7 separate regions of the Homo sapiens genome follow, and regions 1, 2, 3, 4, 5 and 6 are each linked to region 7. Evidence: promoter capture Hi-C in 16 types of primary human blood cells and fetal thymus (Javierre and others, 2016). All regions are on one chromosome and are shown on one strand. The core of a region is centred on a gene start or on the middle of the fragment in contact, and the rest is flanking DNA. Distances in the headings are between cores, read along the strand shown.

Evidence for each region. The method cuts DNA at HindIII sites, captures the fragments that hold promoters and counts their contacts. A CHiCAGO score of 5 or more calls a contact.
Region 1: a fragment that was not itself captured here is called in contact with the fragment with the promoter of LIX1 in region 7 in 4 of 17 cell types (total B cells, erythroblasts, fetal thymus and 1 more); the score reaches 6.7 in total B cells.
Region 2: a contact is called between a fragment that was not itself captured here and the fragment with the promoter of LIX1 in region 7, in 6 of 17 cell types (naive B cells, total B cells, total CD8 T cells and 3 more). The highest score is 6.9, in naive B cells.
Region 3: a fragment that was not itself captured here is called in contact with the fragment with the promoter of LIX1 in region 7 in 12 of 17 cell types (naive B cells, fetal thymus, neutrophils and 9 more); the score reaches 10.0 in naive B cells.
Region 4: a fragment that was not itself captured here is called in contact with the fragment with the promoter of LIX1 in region 7 in 13 of 17 cell types (erythroblasts, total B cells, fetal thymus and 10 more); the score reaches 10.3 in erythroblasts.
Region 5: a fragment that was not itself captured here is called in contact with the fragment with the promoter of LIX1 in region 7 in 3 of 17 cell types (megakaryocytes, fetal thymus and neutrophils); the score reaches 5.5 in megakaryocytes.
Region 6: a fragment that was not itself captured here is called in contact with the fragment with the promoter of LIX1 in region 7 in 11 of 17 cell types (total B cells, naive B cells, megakaryocytes and 8 more); the score reaches 11.1 in total B cells.

Annotation. Positions count from the first base shown.
Region 1 is chr5:96,817,267-96,820,356 of GRCh38, reverse strand. It overlaps a transcript of ERAP1 not described here. Among named protein-coding and RNA genes, the nearest start is that of ERAP1, 11 kb to the right of the region's middle. The HindIII fragment of the contact is 1,041 bases long and covers 766-1,806 here.
Region 2 is chr5:96,834,514-96,837,825 of GRCh38, reverse strand. It overlaps a transcript of ERAP1 not described here. Among named protein-coding and RNA genes, the nearest start is that of ERAP1, 28 kb to the right of the region's middle. RefSeq lists enhancers at 1-298, 299-800 and a silencer at 1,798-1,847. The HindIII fragment of the contact is 3,530 bases long and covers 1-3,312 here.
Region 3 is chr5:96,719,397-96,722,793 of GRCh38, reverse strand. It overlaps CAST (calpastatin), which reads right to left. Exons shown (of 32, transcript NM_001750.7): 4 at 96-155. Among named protein-coding and RNA genes, the nearest start is that of CAST, 59 kb to the right of the region's middle. The HindIII fragment of the contact is 1,062 bases long and covers 1,496-2,557 here.
Region 4 is chr5:96,786,330-96,789,782 of GRCh38, reverse strand. It overlaps ERAP1 (endoplasmic reticulum aminopeptidase 1), which reads left to right. Exons shown (of 19, transcript NM_001040458.3): 11 at 1,098-1,252; 12 at 3,234-3,313. It overlaps LOC124901031 (a long non-coding RNA gene), which reads right to left. Exons shown (of 2, transcript XR_007058877.1): 2 at 2,677-3,453. Among named protein-coding and RNA genes, the nearest start is that of ERAP1, 20 kb to the left of the region's middle. The HindIII fragment of the contact is 3,150 bases long and covers 611-3,453 here.
Region 5 is chr5:96,691,004-96,694,202 of GRCh38, reverse strand. The region is part of intron 2 of CAST (calpastatin); the gene reads right to left. Among named protein-coding and RNA genes, the nearest start is that of CAST, 30 kb to the right of the region's middle. The HindIII fragment of the contact is 3,022 bases long and covers 1-2,881 here.
Region 6 is chr5:96,770,016-96,773,426 of GRCh38, reverse strand. It overlaps CAST (calpastatin), which reads right to left. Exons shown (of 32, transcript NM_001750.7): 30 at 2,825-2,896; 31 at 1,725-1,783; 32 at 1-787. The coding sequence ends at 1,748. It also overlaps a transcript of ERAP1 not described here. Among named protein-coding and RNA genes, the nearest start is that of ERAP1, 36 kb to the left of the region's middle. The HindIII fragment of the contact is 374 bases long and covers 1,958-2,331 here.
Region 7 is chr5:97,141,138-97,144,284 of GRCh38, reverse strand. LIX1 (limb and CNS expressed 1) reads left to right here and starts at 1,674. Exons shown (of 6, transcript NM_153234.5): 1 at 1,674-1,790. The coding sequence starts at 1,709. RefSeq lists an enhancer at 1,658-1,727. The HindIII fragment of the contact is 8,667 bases long and covers 1-3,087 here.

The DNA of each region.
Region 1 (3,090 bases), core at 37-2,536, 320 kb after region 7:
TGACGTTCCAAGCACCCTGCATATTCTTGCTACTAATTCTGAAAATGAGATTTTCTTTCATTTGTCTTTTTTTAAGCTATGTTGTTTGCTAAATGGCAAATAAGCAAATGCTGATTAGTTAGTTGCCAGATTAAATATATACTTGAGTATATATTTTCTCCCATAAAATGCAGTAAAATGATTTTTAGAACTTTGAGAGATCCTTTCAAGAATGTTCATGAAATTTTAAAGCTTTTTTTGCTGTTTCCGTTGAGATTTTATCACTTGAGAAAGTGAATATGCCTGTGATGGCAAATGGAGAACAACAGAATTGGGTTGGGATGTGGATTCTGAGTCATTGGCCCACATATGGGTGAAGTGACTCCTTCTCTTGCATCTGTTCATGTAACTCTAACCTACGTCTCGGCAAAATTATAAACTACCCAAGTGCTAGACCTTCAGGTCACACCCAAATAGTCAAAATTGTAAATATTAAATCCATAGGTGCTTGAAGTCTATTACACGCTCAATCTTTTGATGATGTCCTAAGAAATAATGACTTCACTCACAAAATACTAGAATACTGTGCTGAATATGCAGGGTGCTTGGAAAGATCCATGTCAATACTGGAAATTCATCCCTAATTTAAACCTTCCTTGAGGGTGATTATTTTGTATGTCATACTTCTAATTGCTGATCTGATCTGGTCCTTAGTACGTAAAAAAACAATCCTAGGAAAAGTGTTTGGTTTTTCAAACTTACGGTATAACAAGTTTTGAAGAAGCTTCAAGGCAAGTAAAGGAAACACACCTGAGTTTTGTTGGTAGAAAACATTTTATTTTCTCTCTCTCTCTCACACACACACAAACACACATACACAAACACACACACCCCTCTGGAGCCACAGGCTCTCCTGCCTTCCTCCTCTCACAGCAATTTTTCTTTGGTTCTTCCCCATTGTTAGTGAAATAGCTGGAACTCACCAGTCTACACCGCTGATGATTGTCTGTAGGATGAAAACATGATGATATGGTGGTAGCAGCTGTCCATGAGGCTTCTGACAAATGAAGCTGTTCTTAGAGAGTACTTACCTGAAATTGAGTGATGTTACAAAATCACTGAAATAAAGTCAGTTGGTTAGAAAATGCAGTTCAAGCCGGGTGTGGTGGCTCACGCCTGGAATCCCAGCACATTGGGAGGCCGAGGCGGGCAGATCACGAGGTCAAGAGATTGAGACCATCCTGGCCAACGTGTTGAAACCCCGTCTCTATTAAAAATATAAAAATTAACCGGGCGTGGTGGTGGGTGCCTGTAGTCCCAGCTACTCGGGAGGCTGAGGCAGGAGAATCGCTTGAACCTGGAAGGCGGAGGTTGCAGTGAGCTGAGATCATGCCATTGCACTCCAGCCTTGGTGACAGAGCGAGACGCCGTCTCAAAAATAAATAAATAAATAAATAAATAAATAAATAAATAAATAAATAAATGCAGTTCAGGTTTGGCTTCATTGGAATTTAGGTTGACCTCAATGTATGGGAAAGCAAAGAAATGTCACTTTTCTCATGGAACACAAAAGACACTACCTTCCTTTAAGTGAATAGTGGAATAGCAGGTTATAAGATTGAGACTGTGGTTTGTTTATTACAACTCTTAAAATTAAACGCTACTGATTCTCACCGCAATAAAACTATCTTTATCCAAGAGGGAGGATTTATGGCATGGATTCTGAATGCCTCGGGCGTTGAAGAAAGCTGGAGGAAAGAGGTAGTCCCAGGCCTTAATTAAGGATGAACTCAGAAAACCTGCACAACAAAAAAAGCCTCTCAAGCTTAGCCTCCTTTTCTTTCTTCTTTGGGGTTATTCTCTCAGCCATCACCCATAGCGGGAACTTAGCCATTAACTCTAGGGCCATATTTATATAGTGCTGGGAACATAAAGGAAAAAAAAAAAAAAAGAGGCTTCCCTGTTAGCTTCAGCCAGAACAATCCTGGGCTGGGAGTCTGCTTGGACTGGCTTTGCCCTTGGCCTCATCGCGGTGGCCAGAGAGTGGAGGTGTTGTGTTCATCTCAGACTGAGCCTGAGCAGTGTGATTATTCATTTACAGGAGGAAAGGGAGGTGTGTTGAGCAGGCAAAAGGGTTTTAAAGCCCCTGGAGACATTCCAAATATACCAAATGATAACTTGATTTTTGGCAATATGCTTCTGTCACAATGTTAAATATTCATCTCACTCCCAAGTGCCCCGTGTCTTTCATAATCTAAATCTACGATTGGTACCTCAATTATTATTTTTTGTTCTTAATTACAATCAATATTACTTGAGGCTTCCTCATGATTGCTTTATTTCTTTTTTATTTGTTCAACCTCAGTACAGTTTAATATTTATTGCAGATATTGGGACTGGCTCACTCAGCATCTCTTCCAAACGCTTTTCAGAATTTCTCACACCACTGCAGAGTCGGGAAAGCAAACACTTTATTTTCCAGACTCCTTGCTCCTAGATTCTAGATGTGCTTTAGGCTCTGCCAAACAGTAGCACTGGTGGGAGACTTGAATTTGGAATTGAGTTCGGTAGGGAGACAGGCAGCTCTTGAGCTATTCATTTTGTGGGGAAAGATTGTGGCACACATGGTATGGTTCTGGAGCCAGCAATTGTGGCAGAGGCTGCCCAATTTAGCAGATGGCTCCTGGATCATGGCAAGAGAAGCAGTTTCACTGGTGGCCAAGTTCTACATTGTGGTTTTGCGATTTGTTTCTGGAAGCTCAGTCTAGTGTATTTTTTAAGCCTTCCCAATGATTATGTAAGTCATGTAATAGCCTGCAATAAATCCTTTTCTGATTAAATAGCTTAGTGATTCTGTGCTCTGCCATTGAACCCTGACACAACATAGAAATTAGTTTTTAAAATGTCATTGATCTTTTTGATTGTGTTATTTTTCTTTTTCTTATTTATAATTGCATGGATACAAAACATGAAATGAGGTTGGCATTATTTATTGCTTTGATGAGCAGGTGAATTAGATGATCACAGTTGCTAACTGATGCTTGGTTAGTTAGACCCATAGGAAACACCTGCTGTGGTTCAACAAGCTGAGGCTGGAGGTCTTCCATTGGC
Region 2 (3,312 bases), core at 465-2,964, 310 kb after region 7:
TTCACCAGCAATAAAATCCCCCGCATTTACCATCTTTAATTTGTTCATGTGACCTCATTCCTCCCGAATGCCAGACAAGAACTCTGGCACAGGTGCGAAAGGCTGTCACACTGACCCTCCACTGAGCTGTTAACACTTAAGCCGTCCACTGACAGCAAAGCTAAAAGAGCACTGACTGTAACATTCCTTCTGGGGCTTCAGGAGTTGCAGGTACCTCCCTAGACGCTGCCATGGCACCTACAGAGTTTTGCTCCTGGTGGCGCCCAAAGGCACTCGCCTCGGCTCCTGCACCACCCACCTGCGCTCCCCGTCCCACGAGGGGTAGAACGCAGTGGGTTTGAGTGAGTGGAATTCACCCTGGCTGAAGCTCCTGCCTGGGTCCAGCGCCCGTGCACTCCAGTTCCCGCCCACGAAGGGGTCGGGGAAATTTCCTGCTTCATTAACATATAACTACTGACCTAATGTAGGTTTGTTTGCTGTTGTGTTCTGTACAATAACTTTGAAAAACTATGTACCCTTCCAACACTTAAAAATGTTATCTCTGTATCTAAATTTCAAATATCTAAAAGTTTTATACATTTAATAGTTGTAAATGATATAATTCCTGGCATATCATAAATATTGACATTTAAAACTCATACTACATTTTAAAGTGTGTCCAGTGGAATGTGACTATCATGAGGAATTGATGCCTACATATCTACACTAAAAAGATGAACATGTTCTTTTTTAAATAGTTAGAAGTTCCTCCTTCCTCTCCAATTCATTTTCTCTCCCAAATTTTAGCCTAATATATTTTGATTGAAAGTCCTTATGACATCATAATTTTTTGAAACAGAAATATGTATGAAAATTGAAATATAAATAAAAATTTAATTTTCAGTGACCTCAAGGCTTAACTATTTAAAAAATCTTCTGATTTGCATTATCATTATAATTTTTATTGATACCCAATTAATCAAAACAAGGTAAGTACATTACACATTTTGATACATTATTTAACATGACGTATCTTTTAAGGAGAAGAATGAGGCCTGCTTTTCAATGGATGCATCCACATATGGCTCTTTATTGCTAGAATAAGTTGGGATTCAGCATCAGTTTTATTCCTATTTTAAATTATTTTTATGTAAGTGCTAAGGAATCTTATTTATATTAGTTGGTGGTTGGGGATGAAATGAGTTTTGTTTTAGCAATGTCACTCAATTATTTGAACTCCTTGCCACTAATATGCCAAAAATCACATAGTGACCTATCATCAAAAAGTATTTTTAATGATCTACTAGTTAGGTCTCCCTTTAATTTTGTTAAAACCAAAGATGTGGACCAGGCGTGGTGGCTCACGCCTGTAATCCCAGCACTTTGGGAGGCTGAAGTGGGGGGATCACTTGAGGTCAGGAGTTCGAGACCAGCCTGGCCAACATGGTGAAACCCTGTCTCTACTAAAAATACAAAAATTAGCTAGGTGTGGTGGCTCAGGCCTGTAGTCCCAGCTACTTGGGAGGCTGAGGCAGAAGAACTGCTTGAATCCAGGACGTAGAGGTTGCAGTGAGCCCAGATTGCACCACTGCACTCCAGTCTGGGTGACAGAGTGAGACTCTGTCTTGAAAACAAACAAACAAAAAACAGAAAAAAAAAAAAAAAAAAAACCAAAGAGGTGGAAAATCCCTGAAATGTAAAAGGATTTGTTTTCCGGTCATTGAAGGCATTCATTTTTTCAATACCAGAAATATTATTTCACATTTCTCTCTGACTCATGCAGGTTTCTCATCTCAGAAATTGTATCATAGTAGTATTAACCATGGAGAGAAGTTGTTCCTTCTTTTGTCAAGTGAAAGCAAAGGTGAAACGGAGGTCCCATATAACCTTAAAACCACAAGAGTGTTCTCAGATCATGTTTGGATAGAGTATGCCTGCAGTTGAAATTCAGGAAATTGATGCCCTGTTAGAACCACCTGTCTGCCTGGGTGTCCCTTGGAAAGCCTCTGTGGTTTCCCAGAGGTCCAACCCCTCCTTTTGAAGACCCTGCTCCAGTTGATAAAGTTTGTAGTACCTACTAAGTAGGATGGGCCTTTCCGACTTGTGAGCCTTCGTACTGCTGGCTTTTTGAAGGATTTATTCATGTTTGTACAACTGTAAATTTGTTATGATAGTACAGTAAAACATGGTTATACAGAAGGAAAACACACTGTAAACTTAGACTTAAAATCAAACACATAGAGGTATTATTAATATACAACAAAACAATCAGCAATAATTGTTTTAAAAAGCACCTGGAATTTTTTTTAACATCATTTCGTACAAATAAACTTCCCTACATGTAAGGATGTTCTACTTTGTTGTTTTTAAAAAGATATATGACAGAAAATCCTGACAACAGGGTTGGAATTTGAGACCAGCATCTGAGCTTCTACCTGGTCTTCATTTGTGTATTTTAAGATCCTTGTAGCAATTCATGTGGCTTAAAGGAGCAGTGTCTTGTCCTCAATCAAGTTCTTGTCAGGAACTTGACAGGTCCCTGAAGATCTCACCATGTGGCAAGGATCACTCAAACTCCAAAGAAGTTCTAAAGCAGCTTTGGTCATAACCAGCTCGACAACTCCAATTATCCTTTTAGCCTTCTAGGACAGTCAACAGCAGAGTTTTGTCTTTCTCAAGAAATATCATAATTTTATCTTAAGCCACAGACAGTGTCATGGTGTTACCTTCTTTACTGTGAAAGCAAACTTCTCAGCCACTAGTACACGCCTAACAGCCCCTTAGTATTCTTTGAAATGTGGAAAGGGACAGCACACAACAAATACTAAAGGCCCTCATCCTGGTGGTTCTCAGTCGGTTGTGTGCCTAAGAATCATGTGGGTGTTTCTTTAAAATGTAAATTTACAGTCCCCAAATCAGATTTTGATTCAATGGGTCTAAAAAACTGCCTATTACTGGGTAAGTATTATGCAGTGTTTCTTTGTGTAACAAAAAATTACATAGAAATGAATCCTCATTAGATGATTTATACAGTAGAGGTTAAACACCATGCAATTATGATTTAGTAATAACAGTGAAATAGAAATGTTATTCCTTCCCACAGCATCAAACACTTCCAGTGATAACATTCACAGGTTTATTGTGTATGTTTCTTCATTGAAGAAACTCAGCAAATTGCACTACCATTTATTTGGATTGATTTTATTTTGATTGAGTTCTCAAATCTTTTTTTATTCTTCCAGTAGTTCATTTTACTGTGAACTAGACCACAGGTAAAAGTTTTGTCTCAGTATAAGTTCACATACATCAAACTCAGGACTCCACTTACCATAT
Region 3 (3,397 bases), core at 777-3,276, 420 kb after region 7:
ATATATAACTCATCATCAACAATTAGTCTACATTTGTTTTGCTTTGCAGCACAATCAACTTAAATTAGCACTCACTCAATTAGCATTCTTCATACCTTGGTTTCTGTGGGATTCATACTGGAAGACTTGCTGGTTGCACCAGAGGAAGCTGACACCTAGAAAGGAAAGAAAGAAATAGAAAGTTCGATTCTATTTAACCTACAATCTACATGGTCCTTCAGCTCCTCTTAACCATACTGCCCTTGGCCCTTTACCTTGGTTTTACCCAGTTTAGAGCACAAAAATCTAGTAGGAGGTGGTGTCCAGTAGTGAAAGCCTTTGTAACCAGATCAAATAGGTTCAAAATTTGGGTCTGCTATTTACTAAACAATCTCGGGTAAGATACTTAAATTTTATAATCTCCAGTTTCCCAACCTCAATTTTTCTTTAGTAGTTAACAACTACCTTGTAAGTTTATTATTAGAATTACTCCCTGGCACATAATGAATGCTCAGTAAATATTATTATAATTACTGTTTATGTTATTTTCAGAAAAAACATGGATTTTGCAACTCAACAAAATTTTGTTCAAGCCCCAGCTCTGTCAGTTACAAGCTCTGTGACTTTGAGCTTTGTCTTCCAGGTCCATTTACATACAAAGTACAGTAACATCTATTTGCAGGGTCGTATTTGAGATAGTGTGGCAAAATGTCTGGCAAATTGCAGATGCTCATTAAATTGCCAGTGTGTTATTCCTAATACATAAGATAGAAGGACAAAACTCCCGTAAATAGACTTGGGTGGATGTGAACTGTCCGTTCAGTGTCATGTAAGAAAGAGAAGGTGGAGACAAGGTTACAGAGGGAATTCTACTGCATTATGTCTCATCTAGGCTCTTCCTTAGAAGGCAAGAGGTGATAAATAGTAACTATTCAAGGAACACCCTTCCTTGAGATGCTTGCAGTGGTGCAATCAGCCCCTGTGATCCAGTCATCTAAGTACTGGGATGTGTGTGTGGATACTTGTATGGTTTGGAGTACTATTCTAGTACTTAACTTGTATTACACTGGTTAATATTAAACAGATAATTATAATCTTTGCAAACTCCTACCCAGACTCATTTAAACCTCCTTAACACTTAAAGTCCATTAGGTTTTAGAACCCAGGGATTCCATCTGGCATGAGCTGCCTTCTTAAGTAACTGACTGTCAGTAAACAGCTGCTACCCTGCCAACAACACCCAGGGAAGGAAGCCTGTAAGATGGACCTCACTGTGTCCCTAATGCCTGGTCCAGAGCCACTTCAGAGGCTGAGTCACAGGGCAGCATGAGCCCATTCCTGCTTCTCCCTTACCTTCCCCCACCCCCAATACACTACCACTCAAGGTGATTGTATGAAACCCACTATAGTCTATGGCCCATGAACAAAATCACCTTCCCCACAAACCTCAGTTAATGCAGAACACATTGATGCTTGTAGTTAAACTATCATAATTTACAGACAGAAATCCAAAGCTTTAGTATACTTATTTTTCAAAAATAATCATATAAACATAACTATTCCTGAGAACCCTTAGGCACCAACTGGACACTCCCTTCCACCAAAATACACACACACGCACACATACAAGAAGCCCCAGTCACTGTAGCAGGGCATGGAAGGGCCTCTCTCATATTCTTTTTGGTACTGAAAACTGTAAGATGTACCAAGACAGATTTTCCCTCTATCAAATTAATGGATAAATATATGAATATCCATATTTTTCCTTGAAAATATTTTAAAACATTATGGTGCTTAATGTCCCTGTATTTATGTAATTCTATCCTTCCATAATTGGAATTGATTATACAGATTTCCATTCAAACTCAAGAAATTCCACTTAGCTGCATTCCATTCCTTTAATGATTCCCCTCAACCATGCAACACCAACACAGAAACCAAACACTCTATGTGAAAGTGCTTCTGAAGCTGAAAATCTTTAGGTAGACATATTTTCCACACATCCAAATGTATTAAATCATCCATAAAATCACATTGCCTTGAATTGTCCAGCCTGCCTTGTTACTTTATTAAACAATACCTTGAAGTGATCCTCAAATTCCAGAAAGGAGAAAACTTTCAGAGGGCCCCCATGAACAGTAAAATCTCTATACAGAACAGCTGAAAATCAGCAATGGCGCAGGGTGTAGTGGGAATTTAGCTGAGGGCCTTGGCCCCTGTTGGCAGCACAGATTACTGCATGAAAGTTTTCTTCCCTCACTAAGGCACTAACCATTTTAAAACTGAAATATGAAAGCTGCTTCATGGGAGCTGGAAGTAGGGAATATGCCCACCCCATTATTAATCCATTCGATTCTGGCTACAGCTTGTTCAATTTTTATTCTCTCTGTAAAGACAAGCAACTTTCAATATTTGTAATCTCTGGTGAATGAATGAATACACTTTCATTGTATACTCTTTTGCATTGTTTGAATTTCGTATCATTGATGTGGATAACATTTATAATAAAAAATTGTGAAGGGTTAATCCATAGATCTTCAAAGAGAAAGCACCTTAGTGATAAAGTTTAATACAAGCTTTAATATACAGGCTTTAAACAGGTGAGAAAAATGGAATCTCATGTCCAAGATTTTACCAGAGTTCATTGGCTCCCCCAGGTGTTTATCCAGAATATGCTCTGTGCCAGGTACTGTGTCAGGTGCTGGGGACACAGAGGTAAAACCAGTAGGCATGTCCCTGCCCGTATGAAAGCTATAGCCTAGTCAAAGATGGCATTAGTAGAAATAATCACTCCCAACAATTATTTGCTACAAAGGAAACTCACAGGGTTCCATGAGAATGTAGATGAGGGAACCATAGCAGTTCAGGGGATAGTTGAGACAGGCAGTTCTGATAATGTGACCTGTCATGCGGTGATTGGAGGATAAGGAGGGATCGCTCAGGCTGGAAAGGAGCACTCTCTGCACGAGGACCCTCCGAGCTGTGTACGCCAGGCCTGGGAGCTTGGCCATCTGACTTCTAACCCAGGTCCCTCTACTGCAGTGCCTGCCACTTGGCTGGTCCTGCTAACATCAACGGGCTGCCAATTTTAAAGCACAACCATCAGTGCTCATATACACCAAAATACCTCTAAAGAATTAATACTGTAAATCAGAGTATAAAGTGCTGCTATCAAAATACTACCCCTCCCAAATGACCCATGTACCTATCTTAATATCCCAAATATTAGTAATCATTTATAAACTTGAATTAAGGCACAAGTCAGAGTAACAAGAAGCAGAGAAAAGTTCCTTAATAGAAATTACTCTCCACTCACCCGCCTATTCAACAATTATTATTTAAAAAGCAATGTACAGATGGGTGCAATGGCTCACACCTGAAATCCCAGCACCTCGGGAGGCCGAGATGGGAGGACAGC
Region 4 (3,453 bases), core at 936-3,435, 360 kb after region 7:
GTAAATTGCAGAGCAGAGATCTGAATTTAGATCTAACTCATGTTTTTAACTGCTAAGCTATAAAGTATTCATAACATCAAGTCACAAAACAGCCTGAGTCTCTGTTCATCTGGACTTGTGGGATGTTTTCAGAGGAAGCTGAGGGTGAGTCTGGAGATACAACAGAATTTTTTGTTTCTTTTTTCTTTTTATATGTTTACTTTCTTGGCTTTTTTGTTCCTAGAGACTGCTTTATTCAGTAGTTTCTAGATTTGTCCTGTGGCACATTTTATCTTTTTACTAATTCTTTTTTTTTTGAGACAGAGTCTCACTCTGTTGCCCAGGCTGGAGTGCAGTGGCGTGATCTCGGCTCACTGTAGCCTCTGCCTCCCCGGTTCCAGCGATTCTCTTGCCTCAGCCTCCCAGGTAGCCGGGATTACAGGCACACGCCACTACACCCGGTTAATTTTTGTATTCTTAGTAGAGATGAGGTTTCACCATGTTCGCCAGGCTGGTCTTGAACTCCTGACCTCAGGTGATCCACCCAACTCAGACTCCGAAAGTGCTAGGATTACAGGCATGAGCCACCGCGCCCAGCCTTTACTACTTCTTAAATCATTTCTTAAAAGCTTTTTTAGTATCAAAAAACAGCTCCTTTTGAGTTCCCACTATTTGTTGAGTGTGGGTCATCTCTGTGTTCTCACTTTAGAAACACAGGCTCTTGACTGAACATTGTTTCCACCTTGCTTGTCCAAAACCAGCATAGTTAGGTAGGTATTGAAAACCTGGCACTTTCTCTCCCTTCTCTTCCTTCATTCATTCACATGCCTGCTTTGTGCCCAGTGTTATTGCCAGCCCCAAAGTGTGCCCGGCAGAACTAGGTATGCTACCTGTCCTCCAGACACGTATGTGTAGTGGAGGAAAATGACAAGCAAACAGCTGGTGCTCTAATGGAGGTGTGATGGCTGGGGACATCACACTGAGAAAGGGATCAGAAAGTGCTCCTAAGAGGGGAGGTTGGCAACTGGTAGCGGCTGTTTGAGCATAAGCTGGTGTTCTCTCTTTTCTTAGAGTTGGGTTAAATGGGTGATGTGTCTGCCTTTTTGTGTACACACCAGCATTGGCATCAGGAAGGGGTGGATGTGAAAACCATGATGAACACTTGGACACTGCAGAAGGGTTTTCCCCTAATAACCATCACAGTGAGGGGGAGGAATGTACACATGAAGCAAGAGCACTACATGAAGGGCTCTGACGGCGCCCCGGACACTGGGTAATGCTCCTAGAGTAAAATTTGTTTTGTTGTCTAGGTAACATCTGCCTTGTAGGATGGAACCTTGCTTTTGAAATAATGCCCTTACCACTATTGCTAAAATATTTCAGCTGCATCTGTGTATCCTATGAAGTTGACTTATACTCCCTGCCCCCATCTTCCCAGTAGGATTAAGGAGGCTTTAAACCTTGGTTATTCTCAGTAAAGGTGACGATGTAATTACTTTAACATTCTCATATTTTGTAATTTGATATGATGGTAATTTCTGGTTACTGGCTTGAAATCAACTCCAACCTAAGCAACTGCTACTAGATTACAATAGTGCCTAGCATTTGGTTGGAGCTGAGGACAAAAGAATTTAGGTGATTTCCGAGAATGATGAGAGACTCAGTTGTCTTCTTCTGAGTTAGATTTGGAACCTGTTTGTCAGCTTAATGCTATAGAAGAATATTATTAGAAACAAGATGCTGCAACTTGATTGACCCTGGATGGATACCGTTAAAAAATTCTTTTATCTTGAAACAATTTCAGACTTATAGAGAAGTTACAAGAATAACACAACAAATTCCTATATATCCTTTACCTAGATACATGTTAACTCTTTACTCCTTTACTTTCTTCACCTCCCTCTCTCTCTTGCTCTCTCTCTCTCTCTATATATATATGTATATGTTTGTGTGGATATATGTGTGTGTGTATATATACATATATATGTGTATATATATACACACACATATATATATATAATATATACACCTCCCTCCCCCATCTTCCCAAAAGGATTAAGGAGGTTTTAAATCTTGATTAATCGATATCCATCTATCTACATACATACCTATATACATATGTCTGTATGTATATACTTGGCATATGTTTTTCTGAACTGTTTGACAGTAAATTGGTGACATGATTCCCCTTCACACCTAAATGTTTCAGCATAGTATTTTCTACAAAACAACATTTATGGCCGGTCACAGTGGCTCATGCCTTTAATACCAGGACTTTGGGAAGCCGAGGCAGGAGGATCACCTGAGGTTAGGAGTTCGAGACCAGCCTGGCCAACATGGTGAAACACCATCTCTACTAAAAATACAAAAATTAGCCGGGCATGGTGGCGGGCGCCTGTAGTCCCAGCTACTCAGGAGGGTGAGGCAGGAGAATCGCTTGTACCCAGGAGGTGGAGGTTGCAGTGAGCCGAGATCGCACCACTGCACTCCAGCCTGGACAACAAGAGCGAAACTCCATCTCAAAACAAACAAACAAAAAACAAGAACATTCAGTTATATAACCATAGCCACAGTACAATTATCAAAATTGGGAAATAAACTTTATATAATACTATTATCTATAAATCCCATTCAACTTTTTCCAATTGTCCTAAAAATATCCTTATAGCAAAATAGAAAATAAATTCTGACTTAGGATTTAATACAGGATCACTTATTTTATTTAGTTGTTGCATCATTTTGGTCTCCATTTTTTTCTGAAACAACTCTTCAGTCTTTTTTGGGCTTCTCGATATTGACATTTTTTGAAGAGTACTGGCCAGTTATTTTATAGAATGCCTTTCAGTTTGGATTTTCTGCTGTTTCTCCATGATCAGGTTCAGCTTACATATCATTGACAGGAATCCCAAGGAGGTGATATTGTGTCCTTCCTAATATACTATTCAGGAGGCACATGAGTCCTGAAGTTAGGCCTCTGAGATGCAATCAGCCAATCACTGTAAAAAGGCTTTCAGGGTTCACGTGAGTCCAAATTCTTAGCTCTACTCAAGGAGTCCAAGAAAAGGAAATAGTGCCCGAGCTGACACTCCCTACAAAGCTGGAAAACAGACTGGGGATGTTTTGAGAGCTTGGCTGTAGCAGTTTTGGTACTATCTTGTTCTAAACTAACCAGTGCCTGGCACATGATAGGTGATTTAATAACTGCTTGTTGAATTGAATCAACAAATGAACAATCCACCTCTCCTTTATTTTAGGTACCTGTGGCATGTTCCATTGACATTCATCACCAGCAAATCCGACATGGTCCATCGATTTTTGCTAAAAACAAAAACAGGTAATTTATTTTGGAAACTACTAGTTAATTCAAGGAGGAATGTGAAAATGTGTAGGATTAAAGTGCTGTTTCTTTTGCTATTTATCTTGGTTAAAGCAAAAGGGATCAGATTGAAAATGCTTTCTGGTTTCAAAGAAGAA
Region 5 (3,199 bases), core at 121-2,620, 450 kb after region 7:
TTTTATATGTATAATTGAGAATAATTTGGTTTCATTCTTTAATATTTAGAAGAAATATTTAGCCAAATTTATATTTTCTAATTTATTGAAAATGCATGCCATGGAAGTTTGAACTGAAGTCTTCTTTCCCTTCAGGGTAAATTTTGCCTTAGCATGCCCCAAAATCAAAACTTAGTTTGCTGTCCTCAAAGCACAATCTCTATGTGTCCACTCGCCAACCACTCTAGGGGGCCTCACAGGCATTTGCAGGAGTTCAGGCTCCCAGGCATCATCTGTAGAATAAATAGTCTCTCCCAAGCATACACTTACTACCATCAACCAAGGAAAGAAAAAAACCTAGATAAATGTGATAAAAACAAAAGAGGCTGCTAAGAAGCTAGTGATGCAGGTGTGATATGTGAGATGGTAAAAGGAGGGGATAACCCACATTTTATCCAGATTGCTAGTCTTTTTTAAATTATCACAAATAATAACAAATAGCTTCTGACAACCTTAATGTACAAATGGATTCTGTGTAAAAGACTGGACGTAAGACATAAAGACAAGAATACAGCAGTAGCATTATCCATTTCAACTTCATTACCTATCTCAACCTCTCATTTTCCAGCGAGGAAACTGAAGGAGGTTAGGTCTGTTTTCAATGTGACACAGCTGTCCCAAACTCCAGCTATTAGCTTTTGATCTTAGCTACAATTGAGGAAGGCCATGTTCCAATCCTGGGCTAATTACAGATTCCATTCGCTACATCAAAGCCCACATACTTAAAGTCTATAAATGGATTCCACTACTTACAATATGCCAATTAGGATCTGCCAATGAGAATTTAAAAATTTGTATTTTGGCTGTGATGAAACTATTAAGTTAAAAATAATGACTGTTTAAACTTAATTTATATGCTGAAAATGACTTACTAATAAACGAAATGTTTTTTAACTTAACGGAGGCTCCCTCAACTTTCTTGTGGGTATGATCTGTTCCCCTAAAGACTGGCTTGCTCTCAGAGCTGCCTGGATTACTTAGTCCACAAAGGACCAATGTAGTTCAGCTGAAGTGAGACTGGAATATGTAAAATCATCTTTCATTAAATTTTTATCTAACAAGTATTTATTAAGCCCTTTGTTGACATCTGGCACTGAAAATACAATGCAAAAGCCTTGAAATGCACCCATATACAGAGCAGACTCCTTACTTTCAGATTGGTAATCAGAGTTTAATTACATGTTGTTTTGGCCCCCTTTCTTCATTTGTGTCTGACTTCACATATTCATTTGTTCATTCATTCATTGGGAAAACTATGAGCCTGGTCCTATTCTAGGCAATGGGGATATAATGACCAATTAAACAGAAAAAGCTCCTGCCCTCGTGGCACTTACATTCCAGTAGAAAGACTCAGCCTTTAAGTAAGTCAACAAAAAAACAAGATGACTTCAGAGAATGGTGAGTCCTGAACAGACTGTGAGATGGGATGAGGTAACAGAGAGTGATTGGCTCAGGGTTGCTTCAGACAGGATGGATGAGGAAGTGACATTTGACTAACACCTGACTGCTGTGTGGAAACCAATCGTGTATATATGGGATGAGGGAAAGGAGGCATTCTAGGTAGACAGGGCAGCACGTGCAAGGGCCCTGAGGTAAGAATGGGCTTGGTAAGCAGGAGGAGCAGAAAGAAGCCAGTGCAGCCAAAGCATGCTGGGTACAGGCATGTATGGTATGAGATGAAACAAAATGCAGGATCAAATATTTATTCTGAAGTGATGTGGGATCAGAATAGCCCTATAGTCACATGAGTTTGGGATCATCAGTTTCTTCCAGGATCTGGTTTGCTTCCTAGTCTTCTCAGGTTACTACCTGACCCCCTGAGTCCTCCCTTGCCTCCAGGTGCAAGGTTTTCAACGTCCTCTGGCTTCATGTCACCTTGTGCTTAGTTTTGTTGGTATCTCTTCACACTTATACTCCTTAACATCAGCATCAGTCCTTAGAAATTCTACCCTGCCCTGAACAGATCTCTTAGCTCACTAGATCTGCATACTCACTAACTAGTGATAGGGCTGGATCCACCCTGAGGAAAGAATTCATCTACTCACAGTAAGTAGAAACTCTCAAAACAAGCTCATTTTTATATGATATTGCACCATCTGTTGCAAGAAGGCATGAAAAGAATTAGTTGCATACTTTTTTGTATATCTATTGTAGTTCAGAGAAAAAATTTTTTACTGAGTCAATCAGAACTCGAGTCTTTAAAATTTTCAAAATAACAATGAAGTTCCAAGAGCCAGGCAAAGAGTTGCTGTGTCACTGTCACTTAAAATCTTAGAAAAGGCTCCCTGAGTGAAGCCACATGTTTTACCCTGAGACTTCATGACTCTGTGAAGAAAGGCACCACATTCTCTAGGATAATGGTTCTATCTTATGATTTATATAGCAAGAGTCCTGTTCCACCAAATGCCAGCTATGAGATCTTAGGCAAGTTTCTGAACATTTCTCAACACCAGTTTTCTGAGCAGGGTGAATAACTCTGCTCATACCTCGGAAGGTGATTTTGAGGGTTAAATGAGTTACAACATATCCTGAGGACTGTGACCCACAGGTTGAAAATCCTGGCTCTAAAGGGAGAGGCCCAAAGTCCTTGCCCAGGTAGCAATGGAACAGACTGACCTCTGCAGGGCAACCCCAGTGGGTCTGGTTGGTACACATGAGAAGACTTAGTGGCTGCTGAAAATTTTCTATGAGTTTTATTATGTATACAATTATAAAAAATAATAACCTTTTATGGGATAGAAAAATGTAATTTTTTCCTTAGAACTAGCTCATGATTCTAATAATGGGATACTGTTAAGTTACTTGGAAACAGTTTGATTTTTTTGAGATTTGCTTTCAAGCTTTGTTAGGTTGGACCAGATCAGCTTTTAGAGTATGCGATATTGTGATATAATAAGAAATCTATGTAGTCATGTGCTGAATAAGGGCGTTTCACTCAACAACAGACTGCATTTTCTGTATATGGAACAGTGGTCCCATAAGATTATAATGGAGCATATACAGAAACTTGATGTATGGCACATGATATTGGCATTGCAGATCAAGTAGGGGAAATGACTAATATTTGGTCATGATGCTGAGACATTTAGTTTTCTATATGAAAAACTATATATAAATAAAGCTGTATCTACCATCTAGGTTTGTGTAAGTACACTCTGGC
Region 6 (3,411 bases), core at 895-3,394, 370 kb after region 7:
TCAAGTCAGATGAGTACCCTAAGAATTAATTAGATTTTATTTCTTATGCTCGAAATTTGCTACACAAGGACTTATCTAACCTTTATTTTGCTCTGTTGCTGACTTGATTCAAGTCTCAGTGTGTTCTGTGCTGACTGTAAGATGCAGAAGTCCTCACACCTGGCAAAGAAGAGTTCAAACTGAAAAGGGGTTTGGTGCTTCCTGGTTTGTCCAGGTTACCTGTTATTAATTTATTATTAGCAGCCCAAGAGGAGATATGTGCCCAATGTACAATATCTTATGTTTGACTTATAAACATTATCCCAAAGCAACATCAAATACAGTTCAAAAGCCCAAGAGGAAAGGGGGTAATAAGAAATCAGAACACTGAAGAATGTTTAAAACATTGTTTTCTAAACACTAACAAAAAAAATTAAGGGCAAACTGAAAATACAAATGAGATTTACAGGCACTGTGTGTAGAATGTGCAAAAATTCACTTAGCTTTTCTTTTGTTTTTTTGGTGTTGCTTTAAGAAACTTTATCAAATATATTTCTTACAAATATAAAGCTTTCTCTCCCAATTGAAGGCAATTAAAAAAATTCAAAGTTTATCAATACTCAGTACACAGGTGAACCAGTCAAATTCATTTTCTTTCTGGAAAAGAATAACAAACCAATATTTAGGATGTTCAGAGACTCAACAAAAACCATTCTAGAAATCACCCAGAACAATTGTTTTCTGTTGCCAAAGCCTTTTGTTCTTCAAAAGTCACCATCCACCAGCTGAAGATTTTACATGCAGATACCTTAAAAATTTCAAATAAAAAATGCAGTGAATCATTTAATATGTAATTTTCTTGTTACAGACATAGTAAATATACCACTTAGCAAAAGCATTGTATAACAGACAGAAGGAATTTCCTATAAGTAAACATGAAAGTGGATTAATAGAATTTTTTTTAATTTTGGGAAAAATGTTAGAGCAGTTCTACCTAATATAGCTCCTTTTTTCCTAGGAAATAAACATGGATCATGGTGAGAGAGCTGAACCCGATTTAACCTATACTTTGATTTCTTTTAGGCTTTGGTCAGTAAGTGCTTGTATGCTTTTAAGGCTTACATTAAGCCCTCTCCTTTCTGAAGATTAAGATAAGGGCCCAGTTCTGAAGATCTCAGAAATCCCTTCAATCTGTCCAGTTTCTTCAGCAATTATAAATTAGAATCAAACACAGTACTTTACTTTCCAAAATAATGACAAATAAAAATGGCCAATCTTTTCCTTTGCCCTTGTTCCCAAAACCCTGTAATTTCCACCAGACTCTAAAGGGTACTTCTCCCCACCCCACCATGTATTGGTATTCTGGGGAATGCCAATGTCTTCAGGACATTTCGCTAAGTTGTAACATGCTAATTTTGCTTTGCCACAATAACCTGCAGTAATGAGCATTTGGATTTCAAAGATTCAACTAGCCTCAGATGGTCATTCTAAGTGCCTGGCCTAATATTTTTAAAAGCTTTTAATTATAAGATTAAGGTTTTTAAACATTTCAATAGCAAACTCATCCCATTTAGTGCTTTCAGAGAATGACCAATTACTCTGTAGATCTTGCAGTATGCATTTCATGCCAATACTGTAAAGTGAGCATGAATTACTCAAGAGGTGGACTTCACTTCTCTCATCTATAACACATAAATTGGCAGAAGATACAGTTGTCTTCATTTACAAATAAACACCCAACTTACCAGATACCTTAACTTGTATTTCTTTAGTCATCTTTTGGCTTGGAAGTTTCCTCTGTTGTCTAAAAGGGAAAGCAAAACCATCCGTGAGCTTTCTTTTCTGTATTAAGTATGAGGAGATGGCCTTCTCAGAATTAGGGGACAAAAGATGGCAGTCAGTGGGGAAAAATAAGATGGTCCTTTCAGTTTCTCTTCTTCATCTGGCCACAATATTGTGAGTTCTTCCTCCTCAAGCTTATAAGCTAAAAATAACCTTAAGTGATCCTGATCCTAAATGTATCACTCTCAGCTTTATTTTTTTAAGGCTAGGGTAGGTTATAAAATATGCATAGGTGTTCTTAAATGGCAATGTTTCATTCTGTGGTGATCCTTCCTTTCCTGTACATAGGGTCATGGCTGTCCAGTAAATCCACTCATCATAAAGGGTTATTATGCTTTCTATTATTTGTTAAAGGGCTGATTAAGTACTTCGTATAACTGAAATTAAATAATAGGCAAATAAGTATTTAAACTGAGATATAATGGCATAACTGCCAATTATCAATGCTGTTTCCTATATCCCTTAAGGGAATCTACTACAGGAAGATTTTAATATATTGTTTTAAAAGCTTTGGTGTAACTGGACTATTGTCTTTAAAGCTACACCTTTAACTCCTCCTTATAGCCAGGGGATCATAGTAATAATCATTTAAATCATATGTTCTTGGAATTGGAAGGGACCTAGAAGTTGTCTAATCCAATTTTCATTTCTCATCACAGCTTGAGTAATTTTAATAATAGGAAGTTTCCAACTTCCATGTTCTAAAATCTATATAAACCACATACTATGGTGGTATTTTAATTAGGGCAAGAAAGACAGGCAAAACACAGGCAAATTGGGTTGTGTCAAGAACATTCATTTAGGATTTTAAAGCACCAGTTACTTAAAAATATATGTATTTATACAAATTCAATTACTTTACCAAGCGATGCTATGGGATAGATAGTACTTTAAGAAATTTTATTCTAAATAGATTCCAGTAGGAAACTAAATGACTGAAATGATAAACCCTACTCTGTGTAACTGCTAAACTAATTTGTAGTATATTTACTGCTCCATTTACCTTTGCTGAATCCTTCGCTTTACCTCCATTCTTAGGTGCTTTGGAGCTGGAAGCAGCCTTCTTGCACTTATCCTAAAGCAAAGGAAATGTAATGAGGCTATGGCTATCACCAATCCATCTAGCAATTAACTAGGCTGCAGTTAAATTAATCCAGACCATTCTGAGATCTCCAATTTAATTAAATAATGGAAGACTTTGGGTGTTTTTTCATGATTTTTTTTGAACAACGGTGTCAGAGAATTGTTTAAAGCAGGAGGGAAAAAGGATAGAAATAAGGAGGGAAATGTGGGTGACATTGATGCTCTAATTCCCGTGGTGCCTGACTCACCCAGACCTTATTTTGCTAATCAAAACAGAGCTTGTCAATAGATAATAAATGTCGGCAAGGGTGTGGAGAAAAGGGAACCCTAGTACACTGTCAGTGGGGATGTAGATTGGTATGGGCTATGATGGAAAACAGTATATAGGTTCCTAAAGAAATTAAAAGTAGAACTACTGTATGACCCAGTAATCCCTCTTCTGGGTATATACCCAAAGGAGATGAAATTATCACCTTATAAAGATATCTGCACTCCCATATTCACTGC
Region 7 (3,147 bases), core at 425-2,924:
ACCACCCTGGGCAACATGGTGAAACCCCCTCTCTACTAAAAATACACAAATTAGCCAGGTGCGGTGGCGTGGGCCTGTGGTCCCAGCTACTAGAAAGCCTAAGGTGGGAGGACCGTTTGAGACTGAGAAGTCAAGGCTGCAGTGAGCCCGGATCATGCCATTGCACTCCAGCCTGCATGACAAAGTGAGACTCTGTCTCAAAAAAAAAAAAAAAAAAGGATACAGCTAGGGACTAAATTAAGCCTTGCATTTGAATTCAGGAGCCACTCTTCTGGAAGCCAAGGCTTGTTACCCCCCACAACCCTCCCAAATTTTAGTCACTTCTATTGGGCAGGGGCAAGTAAAACCTGACAGACTGTCTTACAGCTTGCCTGGGAACATTTGTTTCCCTATTTACCCTTCAAAGTGAATCATTCCCAAGGTTGACTTTAATTAATTCTGATGTAATTCACTTCCTTTCACTTAATAATTATTAAAAATTTCAGGGCAGGGTGCAGTGGCTCACGCCTGTAATCGCAGCACTTTGGGGGCCCAGACAGGATGATTGCTTGAGCCCAGGAGTTTGAGACCAGCCTGGGCAACACAGTGAGACCCCATCTCTACAGAAAATTTAAAAATTAGCCAGGCGTGGTGGCGTGTGCCTCCCAACTACTTGGGGTGCTGAGATGGGAAGATTGCTTGAGTCCAGGGCTCAAGCCCCTCACTTGAGTCAAGGCTGCGGTGAGTTATGATCACGCCACTGCACTCCAGCCTGGAGGACAGTATGAGACCCTATTAAAAAGAAAAATAAAACAAAGAAACAGGACGAGAAAATACATATATGTTTCTTAAGGTAGTTATTGAAAGATTTTTTTAAAAAATTGAGACAGGGTCTTACTTTGTCACCAAGGCTGGAGTGCAGTGGCACAATCTGGGCTCACTGCAGCCTCGACTTTCCAGGCTCAAACCATCCTCCTGCCTTAGCCCTCCAAGTAGCTGGGATCACAGGCATGCACCACCACACCCAGCTAATTTTTGTATTTTTTGTAGAGTTAGGGTTTCGCCATGTTGCCCAGGCTGGTCTGGAACTCTTGGGCTCAAGCGATCTGCCCGCCTCAGCCTCCCAAAGTGCTGGAATTACAGGCATGATAAACTGCACCCAGCCCCATAATCTTTATAGCACTCCTTTACCAAAGAAGAATTACACTGAAAATTTAGATTTATAGGGATTATACTGTTAACATATAGCTGGCAGTCCTGAGCTGGAAGCTGTCTTGTCATTCAGGAAATTTCCTGGAGAAATAACCTTCCTGATTCCATATTCCTGGGGGCAACACAATTGAAGATGGAGGGCCAGAAGAAATACTCAAGTCAGAAAGCTGCACAGCATTCAGACAAAATCTGGTTGGAGAGGAAAGCTGTTTTCATAATTTAGCGAGCTTCCCCAGCTAGCCTGTAGGTGGGTGTGTTTAACAGAAGAAAGCAATGGGAACCCGCCTGTCAGCCAGCCTTTCGAGCTAATTAGCTCAGCATACAACAAAGATAAGTGAGCCTGGGAAGAGGGCCCCCTGAGGGGTCTTTAGATTCTGGGAAATGTCTGATTGGCAGATGTTAAAAGGGATTCCTTGGTAATCCAGTGCATCAATGAGCTGCAGAAATTCAGCCCAGGACTGCAAGAATTCAGGCATGAGGACACTCTGTACAGGAGGCTCACACAGGCAGACCCAAGATGGACAGAACCTTGGAATCTCTGAGACACATCATTGCCCAAGTCTTGCCTCACAGAGATCCGGCTCTAGTCTTCAAAGACTGTAAGTACTGAAGGGGGAAAAGTTTTTTGACTTTTTAGAAAATAGTCCTAAACGTCAAGTCACATCCTATTTAAGTAAGATTTCTCCTAAATCTCTGCAGTCGTATGCTGTGTTCTAAGTGATATTTTAACTTGTTCCTGACTTCAGCCAGAAGAACGATTTCATTTCACCTACAGGCATTAGGCACTGGGTTATTCTGTCAGTGATACATCTTGCTAACTACTTAGAAGTCTCTTCTACAATCCAAGACCTGCCTAAGACTTAATGAACTTTTTCTGATGCTTTTTAAGTAAAGCAAAGCTGACTGGTGTTGAGATTAAACCTAAAAATAATTTGGAAATGATACTAGAATATATCAATATTTGTTAACCTGTTTAATACTCCACAACACATATTAGCTATGTTAATTCAAGTATCGTGTTTGTCTGAAAATATTTGTTGCAAACCAGAATTAACAGTAAATCACCACTGAACTTTTAAATTTTGATAACAGATTATAATGCTTTAGTTAAAAGGCCAATAAAATGAGATGCCTCCTAACCTCAGCAACACTCCCTGTGTGGACCCCCTACCACCATCACCAATTTATACAGCATGGCAAAGTTATTTCAAAATCTTTTTTTTAATGATTTAAAAATAATTCAATCAAGATTTCCAATTCTAGCAATACTATTAAACCATTTGTCATATAACTTCGTTTCTGGAACCAATTTGATTTCCTGCTGCTGCAAAACAGACTATCTTCATGTTGTATCTTATCTACAGTGGGTTTCATATTACAAAGGGCTTCTGAAATAGAACTGCCCAAAAGGTAAAATGCATATGGAATTTTTTTTAACTTCAATAGGTTGCAGCTTTCCTCTTTGTGAATCTAGTTGTGTTTGTCTCCATCAAAACATCAATGGTTTGAATTTTTGCTTTCTGATTGCTGAATAACGTTCCATTCCAGATGTCCTCTTAGCTTAGATTTCTCATATGTATGTTGAAGAAAGAGGAATGTTAGGCCATTTAATTCTATAAATTTTTCCTCTTAGATGTTAAATTGTAACCAATCTGTCCTTTAAGGCATAAAGTGAAAGCCTTTTCTTTCTCTAGCTCTCTTTTTAAATATTGTCTTTAGGCATTTGCCAATAACTATGTTAGATCTAATAAAAATCACTCTCTCCACTACTCTAGCCTGGAGTCTATTCAGGTTTGTTATGTTTTTTAAGCGAAAAGGGGAGGAAAGAATGTCTCTCTCCTACAATAGAACTGATTCACTAGTGAGGGATAAAAGGGCTCTCGGGCTGCCCAAGCTTTGGATAAATTGTATAGGACCAGGGTTCTTATGCTGAGCATTTAAATAGGGGAAGCAGTT